Regions from separate parts of the Homo sapiens genome. Here all the other regions are linked to region 3. The links are contacts of gene promoters, found by promoter capture Hi-C in human tissues and cell types (Jung and others, 2019). All regions are on one chromosome and are shown on one strand. Each heading gives the region's core, a stretch centred on a gene start or on the middle of the fragment in contact. The rest is flanking DNA. Distances are from core to core; before and after follow the strand shown.

What was found. Contacts are between HindIII fragments. The study calls those that stand out against the background at their distance.
Region 1: a fragment that was not itself captured here is called in contact with the fragment with the promoter of KLRC1 in region 3 in 2 of the 25 tissues and cell types used here (heart left ventricle and neural progenitor cells).
Region 2: a contact is called between a fragment that was not itself captured here and the fragment with the promoter of KLRC1 in region 3, in 2 of the 25 tissues and cell types used here (liver and mesendoderm cells).

The regions. Positions count from the first base shown.
Region 1 is chr12:10,492,138-10,494,837 of GRCh38, forward strand. No RefSeq gene overlaps it. Among named protein-coding and RNA genes, the nearest start is that of EIF2S3B, 12 kb to the right of the region's middle. The HindIII fragment of the contact is 6,447 bases long and covers 1-2,700 here.
Region 2 is chr12:10,398,881-10,401,580 of GRCh38, forward strand. All of the region lies in intron 4 of KLRC4-KLRK1 (KLRC4-KLRK1 readthrough), which reads right to left. Among named protein-coding and RNA genes, the nearest start is that of KLRC4, 9.5 kb to the right of the region's middle. The HindIII fragment of the contact is 6,575 bases long and covers 1-2,700 here.
Region 3 is chr12:10,452,063-10,454,762 of GRCh38, forward strand. KLRC1 (killer cell lectin like receptor C1) reads right to left here and starts at 1,315. Exons shown (of 7, transcript NM_002259.5): 1 at 1,136-1,315. The HindIII fragment of the contact is 6,428 bases long and covers 1-2,700 here.

The DNA.
Region 1 (2,700 bases), core at 141-2,640, 40 kb after region 3:
GGTAACTATTATTCTCCTCTCTACTTCTATGAGATTGACTTTTCAAGCTCCCACCTTTAATTGATAAAACAAAAAGAGGGAAAATTAGTAAGGTTGCAGAATAATTTATTAACAATATCAACCAGCTTAACTTTGTTTGCATGTTTAGAGCAAACACTACCACTAACAGCAGCAGAATGAAGATTCTTCATAACTGCATACGAAACATTCACCAAGTTCGTTCATACACTGGACATAAAACCAGACTCAATAAGTCTTGGAGGATAGAAATTATGCACAGTATGTTCTCTCATACAATAAAAATAAATTAGAAATTGTTAGCAAGATGACACTAGAAAATCCACTAATATTTAGAAAATTAAAAGCATGCCTCTACATAAATCCATGAGACATAAAATTACAAAATATTTTAATAAATAAAAATTAAACACCTATCAAAATTTGGGAGATGTGTTAATAGTGAGTAGAAAGATAATTATTTCATTAAGTAAAAAATAAAGGGTCTCAAATAATTGACTTAAGCTTTACCCTAACGTACTACCAAGTGAAAAATAAGTTAACCCCAAATGAGCAAAAGGAAAGAAATAATAATACAGCAGAAAAGTATGAAATAAGAACTTAATAGATAAAATTGATTACTGTGAAAGCCAGTCTTTGAATAGATCAGTAAGTTTGAAATAACTAGAGTTAACAGAAAAAAAGAGACAAGACAAAAATTATCATTATCTGAATGAAAAGGTGTGGGGAACATTTGCAAAAATCTTACAGATATTAAATGGAGAATGAGTGACTTATGAACAAATGCCAATAAATGTATTGACTTAGATTAAAATCGATTCCTTGAAAAATACAACTAAAGATGCCTATACAGGAATTAGAAGCCCTACATTGAACTGCATCAATTAAAGTTAAATTTTTGTTAATTATTTTGCAACAAAGGAAACAGTAGGTTCAAATGATTTTACTGGTTAACTCTTCCAAATCTTTAAAGAACACAGTTCTCTTGATTTTTTGTTTGTTTGTTTGTTTGTTTGTTTTGAGGCGGAGTCTCGCTCTGTCGTCCAGGCTGGAGTGCAGTGGCGCGATCTCGGCTCACTGCAAGCTCCGCCTCCCGGGTTCACACCATTCTCCTGCCTCAGCCTCCCCAGTAGCTGGGACTACAGGCGCCCGCCACCACGCCCAGCTAATTTTTTGTATTTTTAGTAGAGACGGGGTTTCACCGTGTTAACCAGGATGGTCTCCATCTCCTGATCTCGTGATCCACCTGCCTCAGCCTCCCAAAGTGCTGGGATTACAAGCGTGAGCCACCGCGCCCGGCCTCTCTTGATGTTTTAAAACAAACTTTTCCAGAGAGCTTATTCAAAGAATAATATGAGAAAACTTCCTAAATCCACGTAATTGGACATTAAACTGTAGAAACACAAAGGACTCCAGCTAGGATGAACAATAAACATTGACACTGAGACTCATTATACCCTGTCAAAAGTCAAAGACAAAGAATCTTGAAAACAGCAAAGGAAAAGCAACTAATCATGTATAAGAAAGTTTCCATAAGATTATCGGCAGATTTATTAGCAGGAACATAGCACACCAGAATTAAGTGGGATAAGATATTCAAAGTGCTGGGAAAAAATGCTAACCAGGAATACTGTACCTACCTTTCCTCCTGGTAGTTCTGAGGAAACGAGGCAGTCCAGATGAGTGGGTTTCCTCTCAGCGAAGCACATCCCTCCACTAAGGGACTGTCAGAGTGCTTCGTTAAATGGGTCCTGTTCCCTGTGCCACGCAACTGGGTGAGACCCTCCAGCAGGGGTTGTCAGACACCCTATACAGGAGTGATCCTACTGGTGTCAGGTTGGTGTCTCTTGAGGTCAGAGATCCCACAGGAAGGAGCAGGCACTCATCTTTGCTGTTCTCCAGCCACCTTGAGTGACATCTCCAGGCGAGGGAGTGAACCAGTTGAACAGGCCTGAAGTGAACCCCCAGCAAAATGCAGCAACCCTACAGAAGAGGGAGCTGACCATTGAAAGAAAAGCAAACAAACAGAAAGCAACAACAATAGAATCAACAACAACAACAAAAATCCCCACAAAAACCCCATCCAAGGGTCAGCAGCTTCAAAGATCAAAACTGGATAAACTCGTGAAGATGAGAAAAAAATCAACAAAACAACGCTGAAAACCAAAAATGCCAGAGTGCCTCTTCTCCTCCAAATGATGGCAGTGCTTCTCTAGCAAGGGCACATAACCGGATAGAGGATGAAATGGACGAATTGACAGAAGTAGGTTTCAGAAGATGGGTAATAAAAAACTCTGCTGAGCTAAAGGAGCATGTTATAACTAAATGCAAAGAAGCCAAGAACCTTGATAAAAGGTTAGAGGAGCTGCTAACTAGAATAACCAGTTTAGAGAGGAACACGCATGACCTTACGGAACAGAAAAACACAGCACAAAAACTTCGTGAAGCATACACAAGTATCAACACCCAAATTGACCAAGCAGAAGAAAGGATATCAGAGTTTAAAGACCACCTTGCTGAAATAAGGCATGCAGACAAGATTAAAGAAATAAGAATGAAAAAAAACAAAGCCTCCAAGAAAAATGGGACTAGGTAAAAAGACTAAACCTACGATTGATTGGAGTACCAGAAGGAGACGGGGAGAATGGAAACAAGCTGGAGAACACACTTCAGGATATTATC
Region 2 (2,700 bases), core at 50-2,549, 53 kb before region 3:
TAGGAAATTTTGTCAGAGAAATGAAAACCAAGAAATAAACCAAATTCTGAGTTGAGAAGTACATTACTTGAAACGAAAAATTCACTAAATTGGCTAGAAAAAAAATTGAGATTCAAAAGGAAGAATTCATCAACTTTGGGATATATTAATAGAAATTATTCATCCCAGAGAAAAAGAGAATACAGAAAGATGTAGAAAAATAATATTAAGACAAAACTGACTTAAAAACTTTTCAAATTTGCTTTTTTAAAAATGTATACATCCAAGATGCTAAGCAAACTAATGACTAATAGAATCAGCATGTAGAAATCCCCATCTCAAAACATCATAATCAAATGATTGAAGAGGATTTTAAGACAAAGACCCTGAGATAATCTTGTGGAACAGGTAGGACGGATTATGAGATGACTTGAGTCTGTGTGAATGCCAGGGAATGGTTGAGGTATCCCCCACCAGCAGGAGTATTTTGACCACATTACCTTCCAGAGAACCCACATTTGCCCTGAATACTATTCTAGATTGGAAGGAGGCAACATCAACAAGATAGAGGAATAGCATACCCCAGCACTTGCTCCCCATAGAAACAACAACTTAATACATCCAGAAATAAACGTCGGTACATATGGACTAGTGATTTTCAATAAGAGTGCCAAGACCATTCAATGGGAAAAGGGCAGTATCTTCCAGAAATAGTGTTGAGAAAACTGGCTAAACATATGCAAAAGAGTGAAATCAAAGCCTTACATTACACCATCTACAAATATTAACTCATAATGTATTGAAGACTTAATGATAAGATCCAAAACTGTAAAACTTCTAGAAGAAAACATGTGAGGAAAGCTTCATGAAATTGGATTTAGCAATCATTTCTTGATAAAACACCCAAATCACAGCCAACAAAAGCAAAAAATAGGCAAATGGGATTACATCAGACTTAAAAATGTCTGCAGAGCAAATGATTGAAGCAACAAAATCATGTATCTAATAAGGGATTAATATCCAGAATATATTAAGAACTTATGTAATCCAATGACAAAAACCCTAATAACCCTATTTAAAAATGGACAAAGGATTCAAATAGATATTTCTCCAAAGAAGATATACAAATGTCCAATAAGCATATGAAAAGATGCTCAACATTACTATCATCAGAAAAACATAAATCAAAACCACTGTTAAATATCACTTCATACCCATTAGCATGGCCGCTATGAAAAAAGCAGAAAATAACAATTATTGCTTAGGTTGTGAAGAAATTTGGGCCCTTGTGCACTGTTAATGAAAATGTAAAATGGTACAGTCACTATGGAAAACATTATGGAGGTTCCTCAAAAAATTTAAAATTGAGTTGACATATGAACCAACAATCTTACTTCTGTAGAGCCAAAGGAGTTGAGATCAGGAACTTGAACAGGTATCGGCACTCCCATGTTCATTGCAACAGTTAAAACATAGAAGCAACATACAAGCCCATTGATGAATTGGTGGATAAAGAAAATGTGGCATGTGTATAAAATGGAATACAATTCTGCCATTAAAAAGAAGAAAAAGCTATTGCAACAACATGGATAAACCTGAAGGACATTATGCTGAGTAAAATAATAGTAAATTCATAGAAGCAGGGAGTAGAAGGGTGGTTGTCAGGGGCTGGGAGAGGGAAAAACAGGAGAGTATTAGTCAAAGGGTACAAACTTTCAGTTATACGAGATGAACAAGGTCTAGATATCTGTTTTACTACACAGAACCTGTAGTTAATAATGTTGTATACTAAAGATTTGGCTAAGAGCGTAGATCTTAAGTGTTTGTATCACAAAAAATAATAATAAAGAAGGTGGAAGGAAACTTCTGGAGATTACAGATATGTTTATGACACAGATTGTGGTGGTTTCATGGTTATACACTTATCTCTAATCTTATCAAGTTGTATGCATTAAATATGTACAGCTTTTTGTATGTCAATCATACTTCAATAAAGTTGTTTAAACATTTTTAAAAAGGATAATATACTTTATTTTAAAAAAGGAAGTCTTGTTGCATGCTGCAACATGGATAAATCTTAAGGACATTATGCTAAGTTAAATAAGCCAGTCACACAAAAAAAATGCTGCCTGCTTTATTTATATGAGATATCTAAAGTATTCAAACTCATAGAAACAGAAAGTAGAATGCTGATTGCTAGGGGCAAAAAGGGGAGTTGTCCAATGTGTATAGAGTTTCAGTTTTGCAAAATGAACAAATTCTAGAAATCTGTTGTAAAATGTGAATATAGTTAACACTACTGACCTGTTCACTTAAAAATGGTTGAGATATATGATATGGTTAAGATGTAATGGCTCAGATGTAACATACTGTATGAGTTCAACTATATGACATTCTGGAAAAGTAAACAACTATGGAGACAGTACAAAAATCGATGCTTGCCATGTGTTTGAAGGAGGAAAGGATGAATGGGCAGAGCACAGAAGATTTTCAGGGCAATGCAATTATTCTGTATGATCTATGATGATAAAGACATGTCATTATCATTATATATTTGGCCAGACCCATAAAGTGTAAAACACTGAGTGAAACTTAACATAAGCTATGGTCTTTCAATAATAATGATGTTTCAATTGTAACAAATATACCATGCTGATGGGGGATATTGATCATGGGAGAAGTAGTGCATGAGTGAGGACCATGGGAAGTCTCTGTAGCTTT
Region 3 (2,700 bases), core at 65-2,564:
TTTGTATATGACAGAAAATGCTATGTGACACAGTTAACTTATGCATAACCTAAATAGTATTAGGAACACTACATAAATTGTTAATACTTACAGAAGTATTGGTAATTTAATTAGTAATTGGTAATTTATTTCCTGGCTAAATTATGAACCAAAAAATGATAAATAAAAGTATAGGTAATTCATGTTAAAGCACATTTCATTTAAACTTATAGAATGATTTTATGGTTGTCAAAGTGAGTAAAGGCCACTTTAGTTGTATAAGTACTTGTAAAATTTCAGATAATGTAATTAAATCATTTAGTCAATGGGCTCTGGAGTCAGTGAGATCTAGAATTAATTCTAGCTTTGACACTTATAATGTGCGACCTTTAAAAAGTTATTCTATTTTTAATAACCCAGTTTGTTAATCTAAAATGGGCATAAGAACATATAAAACGTTGCATGTAAAACATTTACCACTCAACCTGGCACTTAAAGTTCTCAATAAGCATTAGCTACTTTAATTATTATTTTAGTCACAATTGTTATGTTACTGTTTCTGATTCATGTCAGTTAAAGCATGGAAAATAAATCTTCAGATAAGTCTCCTATGTCCATGCGCTACATCTTTTTTTGCAATATTTTGATCAATTTTTAAAAAGTATTTTTATTGCTTTGTAATACCTTTAGCATTTTATGTAATCTACCTCATTCTGATTTTTATTAAAAATAAAAACTGCTTTTCTCTAATCTACGTGTCTGAGGAATTGTATTTGGCTTTCATCAATTGATTGATTTATTTTAATAATCTTTAATGGCTAAGCTAAATATAAATTATTATTCAAAGATACATGATGTACTGATTACAAAATACAAAATTAATTGTTCATTATTGTGATGTTAATAGCTTTCCCTTAAACGATATTGATCAACAAACCCACTAGATTTCCACAAACAATAATTTGAAAACTTTAAGAAATCCTTCAACATATTTCATATTTTAGGTTTTTACCCTGAGTTATTCAAATGAAGACAGCAATATTCTACTTTGATTTTATTGTATATTAATTATACCTCCTTTGTATCATATTGAGCACTTGAAATCACCCACTAAATGAGGTAGGCTAGTAGAGAGTTGGAGAGTAGCAATACATACCTTCTGTCCCCAGAAAGTCACACATCCTTTAGTGGAGAGGCCAGGTTAGTCTCATAAAAAGGCCTGCTATAGCTGTGTAATAAAAGGTGAAATTTAAAGGCATAAATCCAAGACAAGAACAAACAATGCCTGCAATCTTCGCAGACTGCCCTGTGAAGGCTCAGAGTGAGTCAAGAGTGGAAAAAGTAGATTTCTCATCAACGTGTTACTAAGGTTTGAACAGGAAATTCTACACATGGGCTATTGTGAAATCAGTTTTATCTCATCACACACCTCCAAAATATAGGATACTTGGTCTATTAAAAGTACAAGGTTGACTTTGAAAGTGTGTCATTTAGTTGGTTCATTTTTCAAGTGCCTATGAGAATTTTTTTTTTTTCTGTCTTGATCACGAACATTGTCAACCCTCACCTTGTTAAGAGTGCCTTTTAGACTAGGTTGCTAAATCTTAACATTGCATACTTCTTTTCTTTATATTATTTTATTATGTCACTTCCATTATAATAGAAAACATTCTAAAACTCATAGTAATATTATCAACTGATATCTACTGATTTTTTCCTTAATTATTCTGAAAAATTACTGCAGTAATTACTCAATTGATTGTAGCTGGCACAAAAAGCATCATTGCCAAAGTTATATTATTAACTTCTCTTAGTTCTTAAATTTTTGCACTTAATTTTTAAAAATAGATTATTTAATCTTCAGATTACCCTTGATAAAAATATCTTGGATAGGTAAAATATTAATCAATTTTGAAATATATTAGCATACCAGAAATTGAAATATTAAATAGCTATTCATTACATTCTTCATTTATTCATCCTCCGCCATAACAAATTATGTCGACTTTCATAGAAATATTTAGTTGTAAATGACAAAAACTGAAGTCAAACTATGTATGGGGAAAAAGTAATTTTAAAATCTTACTAGGAGGAAAGTCAGTAAATTGGCAGAATAGGTGGTCCCCCACACATATGCCCCCACAGCAACAATAATTTTTCAGCCATCCACAGACAAAAGTTCCTTTGAGGGAGTTTGGAATTCAAGTAGGAGTTTGTAAAATGCCAGTGGAACCCAAGACCTAGGAAGGTTGTTTTAGGGAATAGATTTGCATCCAAGTGGCAGACTTACCAACAGTGATTCCATCTCCAGACCTGAAAAGGGACCCATCCTCCTGTGCTTGCCTTCAGCCCCATTTAGGCCTTGGTCATGCTGCCAAAACCATTTGCCCAGGGGCCCAGGAGGAGACTCACACACTAGTGTCTCAGGAGGTAGGCATATCAACTGTAGTCTCAATGTAGACCCTGAAACAGCCCTCTAACTTGGCTTTAACTAGTGTCAGCCACAACTTGAGATCAGTCCTTCACCCACAGAGACTTCCTGGGAGACATATACATCTGTACCTCTGGGGCATGCTTGCTGACCTCTGTCCTACAGAAGATACTAAAATGGCCCTGAATCTCCACTCAAACTCCTCTCAACTGTGACCTGAGTTAATCACAGGAAATTGCTGTGAGACTCAATCATCTTTGTCAGCAGTACAGGCTTGCTGACTTCAGTTC